Regions from separate parts of the Homo sapiens genome. Here region 2 is linked to region 1. The links are contacts of gene promoters, found by promoter capture Hi-C in human tissues and cell types (Jung and others, 2019). All regions are on one chromosome and are shown on one strand. Each heading gives the region's core, a stretch centred on a gene start or on the middle of the fragment in contact. The rest is flanking DNA. Distances are from core to core; before and after follow the strand shown. Region 1 holds the start of ZNF141 (zinc finger protein 141). Region 2 has its middle 86 kb from the start of ZNF718.

Evidence for each region. Contacts are between HindIII fragments. The study calls those that stand out against the background at their distance.
Region 2: a fragment that was not itself captured here is called in contact with the fragment with the promoter of ZNF141 in region 1 in 2 of the 25 tissues and cell types used here (hippocampus and mesendoderm cells).

What each region holds. Positions count from the first base shown.
Region 1 is chr4:334,348-340,009 of GRCh38, reverse strand. ZNF141 (zinc finger protein 141) reads right to left here and starts at 2,196. Exons shown (of 4, transcript NM_003441.4): 1 at 2,024-2,196. The coding sequence starts at 2,026. RefSeq lists enhancers at 2,347-2,446, 1,491-2,451, 2,557-3,072 and silencers at 3,087-3,196, 3,427-3,486. The HindIII fragment of the contact is 20,671 bases long and covers 284-5,662 here.
Region 2 is chr4:207,192-212,853 of GRCh38, reverse strand. It overlaps the pseudogene ZNF876P. Among named protein-coding and RNA genes, the nearest start is that of ZNF718, 86 kb to the right of the region's middle. The HindIII fragment of the contact is 9,234 bases long and covers 1-5,662 here.

The DNA of each region.
Region 1 (5,662 bases), core at 947-3,446:
CCATAATTAGCTCTCAAGTAGAAGACTTGACAGTACCATGTATCATACATAGTTTATTACACTTTCACCTAGTAATTTGGGAGGTCATCCGGGTTTCCTAATTGGTAATATTCAAAGGGAAAATAAACTTCCCACAGCTTCAGGACAGGAGGTAGATTTGATATGTGAAGGCAGGTACCTGCTGAAGGCAGCCTCCTACTCTGCTACAGAAATTGCGGAATAGGTTATATATTCTTGCTATGCACATTTCAAAGCAATAGTTTCCATGTCCTAAAGACAATTTTGAGTCAAAAAAGACAAATCACCTAGTTAACAGATTAAAATGAGTTATATATATTTCAAAGAAGCAGAGAAAATATTTAAATATAAAAGTTTTCAAACTAAATGCTTTAAGGGAGAAGAGTAAAAATTCTTTCCTCATTCTAAAGAGAAAGCATTAAGCCTCTTCTGATTTGTATTTGGTCCTACAACAGGCAGGTCTAAAGGCATGGTCTTGAACTCACTAACGTTGAATTCTTGTAGCACATGAGGGATGCACTTGAGCAAACTGTGTGCACAGGAAAGAGGATTTGTGGGGAAGAAAAGAGCAGAAGAAAGGTGCTATCAAGAGCCTTGAGTGGGGGCAAGGCAGGATTGACGAAAGGACTGGTTTGTGCTACAAGTTCAGGCCCAGGCAGGGCTAAGCTCTAACTGATTCCTGAGCCCATAAAGGCAGAGGAGATTAGGATCAGGTGGTCCAAAAGCCTGGGTGGGTGAAGAAAACAGATTCCTGCTACAGATCTGGGGTTAAAATGAACCAGGAGTCTTCTGGGCACTGTGTGTGTTCTTGGGAGAAAAACCTAGGAGCAAAGCTGCCATGGGCACAATTCCTGAGGGTAGAACCCTGTCCTGGGACAAGTGTGGCCGTGCGAATGCCCAATGGGCGGGCTCAGGAGTGGGTTAGCATTGGGTGGGGGCTGGCAGCAGGGTGCAGGGAAGGGATGTTTCTCAGAACTCCTTTCCTCCAAGTTCTCAGCGCCCTCTCTCCCCGGGAGGAGACCTGGAGGAACAGAACAGTGCGCAGCAGGACAGTGCATGTGCAGAACCCGGCTGGTCTCCCGCGGACACCTGCGACTCCCTCCAGCCCAGGCTCAGCCATGTCTTTCTTCTGACAGGAAACGTGAGGAGTTTGCTCAACACCAGTCAATGCTCCGACCCCAACGGGCTGTCCAACAACTCACTAACGACACCACCCGGAGTCAGCACAGACCCCACAAGCTCAGCGCTCTTCCCGCAGCTGCCCCCCTGCAGACGCCAGTCCCTGCCTCTGGACACCCGTCTTCATTTCTGAACACCTGTCTACAAACCAGGGGCCCACACCCTCCTCAAGTTCAATAATATGACAGAACTACTCACAGAACTCAGCGAAGCGCTGTGCGCGCCCACACTAGCGTATTCTAAAAGATGCCACTCAGGAACAGCCACGCGGAGGAGGCGCACAGGGCAAGGAGACTGGTGGGCAAGTTGGAGCGGGCGGGTGATTTGCTTCGCTTCCTCACACACCTCACAAAAGCTTTTCCTTCAAGACCCGCTGGCAGCCCCCAAACCACGAGCCACGGCCGGCGCTGTCCCATTAATGAGTCCCCATTTGCTCACATGAACTCTGTTTTGATGGGGCCTCGATCTCATTCCGAACAGGGTAAAGCAGGGACGGGATCCCCAGACCACAGCTTCTCCCACAGCTCCTCCCACGCCGGCATCGCGCACGCCGCGCGGGCGGCTTCCAGATAAGCTACTCCTCACCCCACAGCCTGGGGAAGGTGCGGGGCTGCGGGCGCAGAGCTGCACAAGGAGGGCTGCAGGCTGGGCCAGAGCCGCTGTGCGGGGACCGACAGGAGCCCAGGTCCCTCACCGGAGGGTACTGAGGCCCCAGGGCTGAGCGGCGGCAGCGGGGACTCCGTTCGCAGACTCGGTCCCGCCGCCATTTCCCGCCAGCTCCGATGAGACCTCCTCAGCCTTGGGACGCCCTGCCCCGCACACTCACCATTTCCCCACTTCTGAAGTATTCGGGAGTCTTAGCTACCAATCATCCAATACCCGCAGGTCACAGAGCGACGGAGGCTGAGCTGTGGCCGAATCACCAAGGCCTCCCACAACTGAGAACGCAGAGAGATGAAGCCCCTAACCCGCGGTCTGGTAGTAGCCAGACGCAAAGACCCGCGCCACATCCCGGAAGCCACCGCCTCCTCTCTGGCTGCGTGCCTGATTGGGCAGTTTTCACTCCAGTGCGCTGATTGGATACGGCTCCAATCTCCCCGCCATCAGACCTTGAGTGACAGAAGTTGCAACCACATACTCCACGGAATGTGGCGAGAGTGACAGCCGGGGGGCCTCCAGGCAGTTTCAGGCGGGGCTTTCTCTTCGTGCTTGGCCTGGCACAGCCCAGGGGTCATTTTTTAACCTTGTGATGTGTAAGGTGACGTCCATTTAGAAATTATACACGCACGCACACACACAGACATATACGCGCGCGCGCACACACAGACGCGCGCACGTACGCAGTCTCACATAAACATACAAAAGTCACAGACACACACACACACACACGCACGCACCCACGCACGCACAGCCCATCCTTCCTCCAAGGCTCGCGAATCATCTCTCCACAAATCCTGCCTTCGGGGCCGCAGCCTGCAGGCCGACCTCAGTCCGTCCTCACAGAGCCTAGTTGGGTGCACAGCTCTCCCTGACGCGCGAGGAGCAGGTTCACGGGAGTCGGTCGCGCATCCCCAGCGCCCTGCGGGCCTCGCACCGGCTGTGGCGGTGACCCCGGTGAGGAGGGCTTTGGTGCGGGTCACCGTTGCTGAGGACACCCTCCTCCCCCGGAAGCGCGGTCCTGGGGGTCTGGGGGGCGGGTCCCTGACCGCTGTAAACAATAGGTCGGTGGTGTCCACGCAGCAGGCAGCAAATTCTCAGGAAGTGAGCGTCCCGTCTTTGGCTTCACCTTCGTGTCTGTAGAATGGGGGTGAGGGGACTCAGGACTCGGAGCGCTGTCGGGCGGGGCGAGGTGGGCTGAGAGTGTGTCTCCCTCCCCAAGCTCACCCGGAGCTGTGCGGGGCGGGACCGCCCCAGGACCCTCGGTTCCCAGGAGCTCCTGGGGGCCCCGCCGCCCCCACCCCAGGCCGCGCTGCGCAGCCCCAGTCCCCGCCGGCCCCACCGCGCGGTCGCTTTGAGGTCGGCCGGGGTCTGCCCGGCGATGGCGACGCTGCAGCCGCTGGAGCCGGGGCCACCGGGGATCTCGGCGGGACCTGGCGGCAGCGAGGACGCGGACCCTGGAGAGATGGGAGGGGCGCGCCCCGAGCCCGAGCCCCACCCGGACCCGGCTGCCGTCGGCCTAGCCAGGGCCGGGGCGGACACCGTCGAGGACGAAGCCGGGCCCGCGCCCCTGGGCGACCCGTTGAGCCGCGGAGCCCCGCGGGGTGGAGCCGGGCCAGGCCCATCCGCTCCGGGCGCGGGCAGCTGGCGTCGCGGGTGGGTCAGAACCCAGGACACGCCCAGGAGTCCGACCTCATGGCGCTGCAGGGCCTGGGGAGTGGGGGCTGGGGACAGCGCCAGGGCCAACCCGACGCCAGCACCCCCGGCAGACCCCAGGAGCCGCCTGTGAAGAGACTGGATAGGTGCATTAAGCGATCAGAAAAGTCACTGGCTGGCCCTGTTGATGAGCAGAACGCTTTCAGAGAAGTGTATGCTCACGCAGTGCTTGGACAGCATTCGCGTAGTTTGACACTTGTCTGCTTGGGCGGATAGATGCTCACACACATAAGTTTGTTTTGTAGTTATGCAGGATTGCACTGTGGCTAAGTACACAGACTCTGGGTGCACATCCCAGCTGCTCTGCTATTTCCAGCTGTGTGACCATGGGGAAGTTACTTGCCTGTGCTCAGTGTCCTCTGTAAAGTGAAGATAGCAGTACCTGCCTCATGGAGTCCCTTAAGTGAGTTAATAGTGTAACATGTTATGGCGTCATGCACACAGTCACCATCGGTAAATATAGTCTATTATGCCTGAACCCCAGAGGAGCACATGTCCTTGAAAAGTCTAAAATTCAGGACTCTAAAATCCAGACTGTGAGACCCTGGAATCCTCCAGCAGCATTCTAACGTCTCTTGGCAATTGTATGCTGCTTCCCAGGGCTGGAAGGTGTATTTGTATTAATACAGTGAAATAATACGGCCACTTGACCACCTAGTTCATCCCTATAGTAGGCAAATAAGGTGATGTCAAATCCTTGGCTGGGGCCCAGTCCTGGTAATCTTCCCTTCTCTCTTTCCTGCATACTCTCTCATTCAGATTCATACATGCCCTGCAGGACTGCTTAGCCTGCAGAGAAGGCAGGATGGTGAGGAGAGAAGGTGAGTGGGTGGGTGGGTGCAATTGTTCACTGAAGTGTGCTGCCTCTTGCCATCTGAACTTGTGGGCCCAGGCACTGGGTCTGGACCTGAGGGGGTCTTGTTCTCCCTTTAACTTTAAGCCTCAATTGGCAGCAATCGCAGAGCTTCGTCCCTCCCTGTGAGCCTGTCTGGGTGTTTATGCTGGATGACATGCACCCCCTCTGCCAGGAGTGCATAGTCTATGGCCTGGCCAGGCAGCCATTGCAGATGAGAAGAGTTTCAACGTCGACTTTATTGTGCTGCTGGGTTTTTTCTGCTGGCTCTTAGCACGTTTCTCATGAGCCATGATTAGCCTCAGGTCTATGGCACCTTCCGCAGCTATGTCATGGTGACTGGGGACATCATCTGAAGCATGTGCCACTGCTACCCCAAGGCAGGTGTTGGTGAGGCTGTGTGGGGATAGGAGGGTTGGAGACCATGTCTCTATCTCATGCATCAACTCTTCATCCTTCAATCATCTCCTCATTCTTATTTTGACTCTGTGTTTACTTCTTTCTGCCCTCCTGAGCATTCATCCATCTATGCATCATTTCATCCACCCTTTCAACCACCCATCCATTCATCTATTCGTCCATCACTTAGCAGAAGGATTGATCAGAAGCCCCCAGGATCTGGAGCCATGAAACAGACACCATGGAGGAGACACAGTGAAACACAACATATTACTTATGTGCTTAAACTAAAAGTCAGTGAGTGGTTTCCACCTGCCAGGCACTCCTGCATTTAGAGTGCAGTTCTGCCCTTATCCTGATCTTTTTGGAGCCTTCTGTAGTTCCATTTTATATCAGAAAAAGCTGAGGCTCAGCAAATGAGGTTCTATAACTGACTGGCCGAGTTTGGATTGGAGCTCAGATGTGTGAATGTAGGCATCATTCTTTTTCTTGAGTTTTCCACCCCAGGGCCCCAGAGCGGCTTAGCTTTCTGGGGTGGGTCAGGTCTAATCTTGGTGGAATGCATTGAGCAATTCTCTATCTTTTGGAGTCTTAATGTATTCTTAGCCCTAGGAGTGGTTTAGTGATGGGAAAGCACTGGTTTGAGAGTCCTGTGTTCTAATGCCAGTTGTGACCCAAACTTTGTGTGTGATGTTTGTCTTTCCGAGCCTCAGCTTTTTCATCTGCAAAATGGGACTTTAGCCTCTATTTTGCACAGCCAAACAGCATATAAAGATCAGAGAAGAGATGGGATATACAAATATTTTGTCAACTCTAGAATGTTGTTTGTAGTTGAAAGGC
Region 2 (5,662 bases), core at 2,046-4,545, 130 kb after region 1:
CGCCATTTCCCGCTGGTTCCGATAAGGCCTCCCCGCCACGTCGCCTCCGGACGCCCTGCCCGGCACACTCACCATTTCCCGGCTTCAGGGATGTCGTAGAGTCTTAGCTACGAATCATCCAATACCCGCAGGTCACAGAGCGACGGAGGCTGAGGCTGTGGCCGAATCACTGAGGCCTCCCTGAGGGGTGGAAGCAGGTCGGTGAGGCCCTAACCGAGCTCAGGCAGAAGCCTGACGCAAAAGCGGCGCCAGATCCCGGATGCCGCCCCCTCCTTTGCCTGATTGGGCAGTTCTCAGTCCAGCGCCCTCATTGGATACAACTACTAGCTCTACGCCCTCAAGCTTTGAGTGACAGAATTCGAGTGACAGAAATTCGACCATACACTTAATGAGGCAAGACTGACAGACTCGTGTCTCCAGGTACTTTCAGGCAGGGCTTTCTGTGCTAGGCCTGGCTCTGTTGGGGGTTCATTTTTAAACTTCTGTTGTGTGAGGTTACGTCCGTTTATAAATTGTGCACGCACGCGCACGCACACACAGACACACTTGTTCACAAACGGAAACAATATAATCACAATTATTTTAAAATTTTAGATCTCATAACCTTTCTGGCCTCTGGTCTTTTGAGTAGGACACCTGAGATTTGAAGAGAGAAGCAAGTCTCTAAAAAATAAAATGTTGGCTATTTGTGAATTTACAATTTTTCATTGGCCACATCCAAACTAATAAAAATAAACAAGTGAAATTGTTTATGATAATTGTAACCTATTGTATCCAAAATATTATTGTTTTAATACATGATCAATATATAATTAGAAATAAAGTATATTTCTGGTCTAATTCTTCTAAACTCACTGTGCATTTTTTGTTTGCAGCACATATTACTTCAAACCAGCCACATTCCAGGTACTCAGTAGCTACATATGGCAGGTGGCCACCACATTGAGTGCAGCCATGAGGGCTCTAACCTCAGGGAATTGAGGGCCTGGACACCTCTTTTCTGTTGGAAGTGAGGGAACAACCTCTCTACCAACTTTTCTTCTCAGGCTCAAGGGTGGGTGGGACAGTGCCCCTAGAGAGAGCAGAGGCTGCAAGCTGAGAGTGTCCACGTGAATATCACGGTCTCCTAGTTGCTCTTTGGTGCTGGTGTGGTGGTCTCCTCAGTTCAGCCAGGTTCAGGCTCTCGTCCCATGACCTGGAAAAATGAGGCACATGGACACCAGAGAGTGAGAAAGCAGAGTAGGATTTATTAAGCAAAAGGAAAGCTCTCAGCAGCAAGAGGGGACCTGAAAGCAGGTTGCCAGAAATGGGGCTGAGTTCTGGGTCTTTTATGTGGCAAGAACGAGGAAGTCTTCTGTGGGTTCTACCCAAATGGGACGGGTCAAGTTCCCCACCAAGGGTGTTGCATCTGCGCATGCCTGGGGTTGACCACAGTGACTCCATTTTGGTTATTACCCATGAGTGCCTAAGGGAAACTTACAGGGGAGAAGCTAAAACCACAATGCTAATACCATGTTAATGACTTTACAATGAGCTGGGTGAAGACAAGGAAATTTAGGTTGATTTATTTTGCCTATGTCTAAGCTGGGATAGTCCCATCTGAGCAACATCCTGGCATAAGAGGAAGTTCTTAACCACATTTCTTCCCACTAGCTACAGGGGCGGGGCAGGTGCAGTCCCACAGGTGCTTTTCCTCTCCCGAGACCCTCCGTCCCTATTTTCCTAACCAGCCTCGACTGCCTTCTCTCTCGGGGGTTGAGCTGGTTAGAAATTTAGGCTGGGCTTAGCTGGGCCATTCTTCTGGGCTCAGTTTGGCTCCTTCAGGTGTGAGTGGTCAGCTGCTGGTGAATTAGGTGGCTCTGCTTCTGGGAGTGAGCTGTCTGTAAACTGGCGCACTTTGGCTTTTCTCAGCATGCTATTTTATCCTACAGAAAGCTAAAATGGGCTTGTTTTCATGGACATGGAAAAATTCTGAAAAAGATAACAGAAGCATTTAAGACCTTTTGAGCCTGGGCCCCAAACTGGCACACTGTCATATGCACAGCTTCGGCCTGTGCAAATAAGGAAGATTCAAGGTTTGGGAAACAGAATCTGTCTGTTGATGGGAACCACTATAAAAGCCATTTCCAAGAATATGAATACAATAAGAAAAATTTTTTTAATTTCTGTTTTTGCAATCAATTTTGTTTTGTCTTTTCTTGCAGGTAAGTATAAAACTCTCCCACATCTACTAAGCAGCTGGCTTGGACTCAGGATCAACGTTGTCTCTGAAGCCCATGCACCTCCATAGACCACACTACTCAGCCAGGTTTCCTGGTCCTTCAAGGGGCTAAAGAGTTACATTTCTGAAATAGAAGCAAGATTTTTTTTTGAGAATCTCATTCCATCCATCCAGTACTCTTCACCATTGGAAATAATTCACTCCAGGGAATGCTTCTGAAGTCTCTTGGAAAAACTGGAAATGATTTGAGGAAATGGCTAAGCATTGAGTGTAGGAAATTAATGCCCAACATTACATTTTAATTTCTTATCATAGGATAAATATGAAAACACCTATAATGCACTCCACATATCTGCAAACCCTTTGTGTCATTATTCTGTATTGGTAGGATACTTGTGATTTATTTTATTTTATTATTATTTTTTTTTTGAGACGGAGTCTCGCTCTTTCGCCAAGGCTGGACTGCAGTGGCGCTGTCTTGGCTCACTGCAAGCTCCGCCTCCTGGGTTCAGGCCATTCTCCTGCCTCAGCCTCCCTAGTAGCTGGGACTATAGGCACCCGCTACCACACCCGGCTAATTTTTTTTTTGTATTTTTAGTAGAGACGGGGTTTCACCGTGTTAGCCAGGATGGTCTCGACTGCCTGACCTCGTGATCCACCCGCCTCGGCCTCCCAAAGTGCTGGGATTACAGGCGTGAGCCACCGCGCCCAGCCTGTGATTTTTAATACAGACTAAATCAACTTACTGTGCCTGAAAAAACTTTTGCTCTGAAGGCAAGTGACATAGAGATAGAGCTGCTGATATTTTTCCCTGTTGCAATTTAGCCAACCAGCAGAGTATGTTTTGAAGGGCCAAGATGTTTTCTAAGACCCCCATCTAGGAGCAGCTATATGGCAAATGCCTAGAGCACACATAGAAATCACACACAACCAATGCATTCCTGACCCTGAATCAATGCTTCTCACCCTTGGGTGCACATTAGAATAAACTGCTGTGCATGTGGGTGGTGTTGTTTAATGTTCCCAAACCCAAGTTGCAAGGGAATAATTAAGCCAGAATCTCTAGAGTGAGACCCAGGCAGCAGTGTGATTTAAAGCTCTCCCGGTGATTACAATATGCAACCATACTCCAAAATGTCTGCTGTAAACCAACATCTTTCAGAGAACCAGTTGAAAATATTTCTCAAATTAATGTAAAACGTGTTTGCTGTTGAGTTGTGGCCTTTCAGTCTTACTCGTATTACCCATATTCTATCCTTTGCAAAACTGACCTCTGCTACTTGTTTTGTTCCTGATTCAAACCAGTTCCACACATACTGAGTGCACACTGTGTGCAGCCCACTGTGCTATGTGAATATTGTTGTGGAGGAAGGACTTTGCTGTAAGAAATTTACATTCCCCAAAACTAAAACCATGTTACTTACTCAATTGAAATAAAAAATGAAAGACTGAGGGGGACGCCCAAGGGTCAGGACATGAGTAAATACCTTGGAATATTAGTATCCATCTCATGATGCCTGAGTGTAAATGCCCCACTTTCAAACAAAACAATACCAAGCATTGCTATTATTCTGAAATATTAAGTTAGGATTAAATAATATTTAAAATTTTATTGATGTATAACACGCATACAGAAATATATGCACAATAAAATATTAATGTAATGCTCAATAAGTTGTAACAAAACTAATACATTGCATAACTATAGAATAGAACTACCCCTGTTTTTGCCCACAAACCACTTCCTTTTTTCCTCCTCCCCAAACCTAATCATGATCTTAAGAGCTAATGCTATAGTTTTTCTTTTTATACAAGTGTTTTATTAGAGAATATTTTAACTTATACACAATAACCAAAATAGTATAATATGGGGGAAAAAAAGAGAGATCAGACTGTTACTGTGTCTATGTAGAAAGAAGTAGACATAAGAGACTCCATTTTGTTCTGTACTAAGAAAAATTCTTCTGCCTTGAGATGCTGTTAATCTGTAACCCTACCCCCAACCCTGTGCTTGCAGAAACATGTGCTGTGTCAACTCAAGGTTTAATGGATTGAGGGCTACGCAGGATGTGCTTTGTTAAACAAATGCTTGAAGGCAGCATGCTTGTTTAAAGTCATCACCACTCCCTAATCTCAAGTACCCAGGGACACAAAACACTGTGGAAGGCTGCAGGGACCTCTGCCTAGGAAAGCTAGGTATCGTCCAAGGTTTCTCCCCATGTGATAGCCTGAGATATGGCCTCATGGGAAGGGAAAGACCTGACCATCCACCAGCCCAACACCCATAAAGGGTCTGTGCTGAGGAGGATTAGTAAAAGAGGAAGGCCTCTTTGCAGTTGAGATAAGAAGAAGGCATCTATCTCCTGCTTGTCCCTGGGCAATGGAATGTTTCAGTGTAAAACCCAATTGTATATTCCATATACTGAGATAGGAGAAAACCGCCTTAGGGCTGGAGGTGAGACATGCTGGTGGCAATACTGCTCTTTAATGCACAGAGATGTTTACGTATGTGCACATCAAAGCACAGCACCTTTTTCTTAACCTTGTTTATGATACAGAGACATTTGTTCACATGTTTTCCTGCTGACCCTCTCCCAACTATTACCCTATTGTCCTGCCACATCCCCCTCCAAGATGGTAGAGATAATGATCAATAAATACTGAGGGAACTCAGAGACTTGTGCTGGCCTTGGTCCTCCGTATGCTGAGTGCCAGTCCCCTGAGCCCACTTTTCTTTCTCTATACTTTGTCTCTGTGTCTCTTTCTTTTCTCAGTCTCTCATCCCACCTGACCAGAAACACCCACAGGTGTGGAGGGGCAGGCCACCCCTTCAGTATAAGATGATGCTCAGCCTCAACATCTACTAATTATGCCCTATTTCTGTTTAATTTCTACTTCAACTCATTCCCTATCCCCTCTTTATTGTTGTTTTTAGTTATTTTTGTAAGATAAGATGTATATGCATTGAAACATAGTCTTTACTGTACATTTTTGACAATCAATATATCTATATATTCTTTTCCCTTTCATTTATAGAATTACTGCCAGTTAAAATTATCAGTGTGCATGTGAATCACCTGAAAATATTATTTGAAATCCAAATTTTGATACAATGTATCTGGGTTTTGCCTGAAAAACCCAGTGTCCTGTCTAGACCAAGGGTCGTGGGTTGAAGCAGGGCCTGAAGGGTGTGCTAGCAACATCACCTTGCCCTTGCCTGACCCCACCCTCACCCACCTGTGACTCACCTCTGGGGCCAGAGGCAGGGAGGGGAGGGTCATTTTGGCAAATGAGGGGTCTGTGCCATGCAAAGATTCTTGCCCCTTTAGAAATGAGCGAGGGTGAAAACATCATGGCCTCCAGCATCTACATGCACATCTCCCCTGAGCCCACATGGCCACCAAGAGGGCTGCTGATGGCCTCTTGTCCCCCAGTAAATTG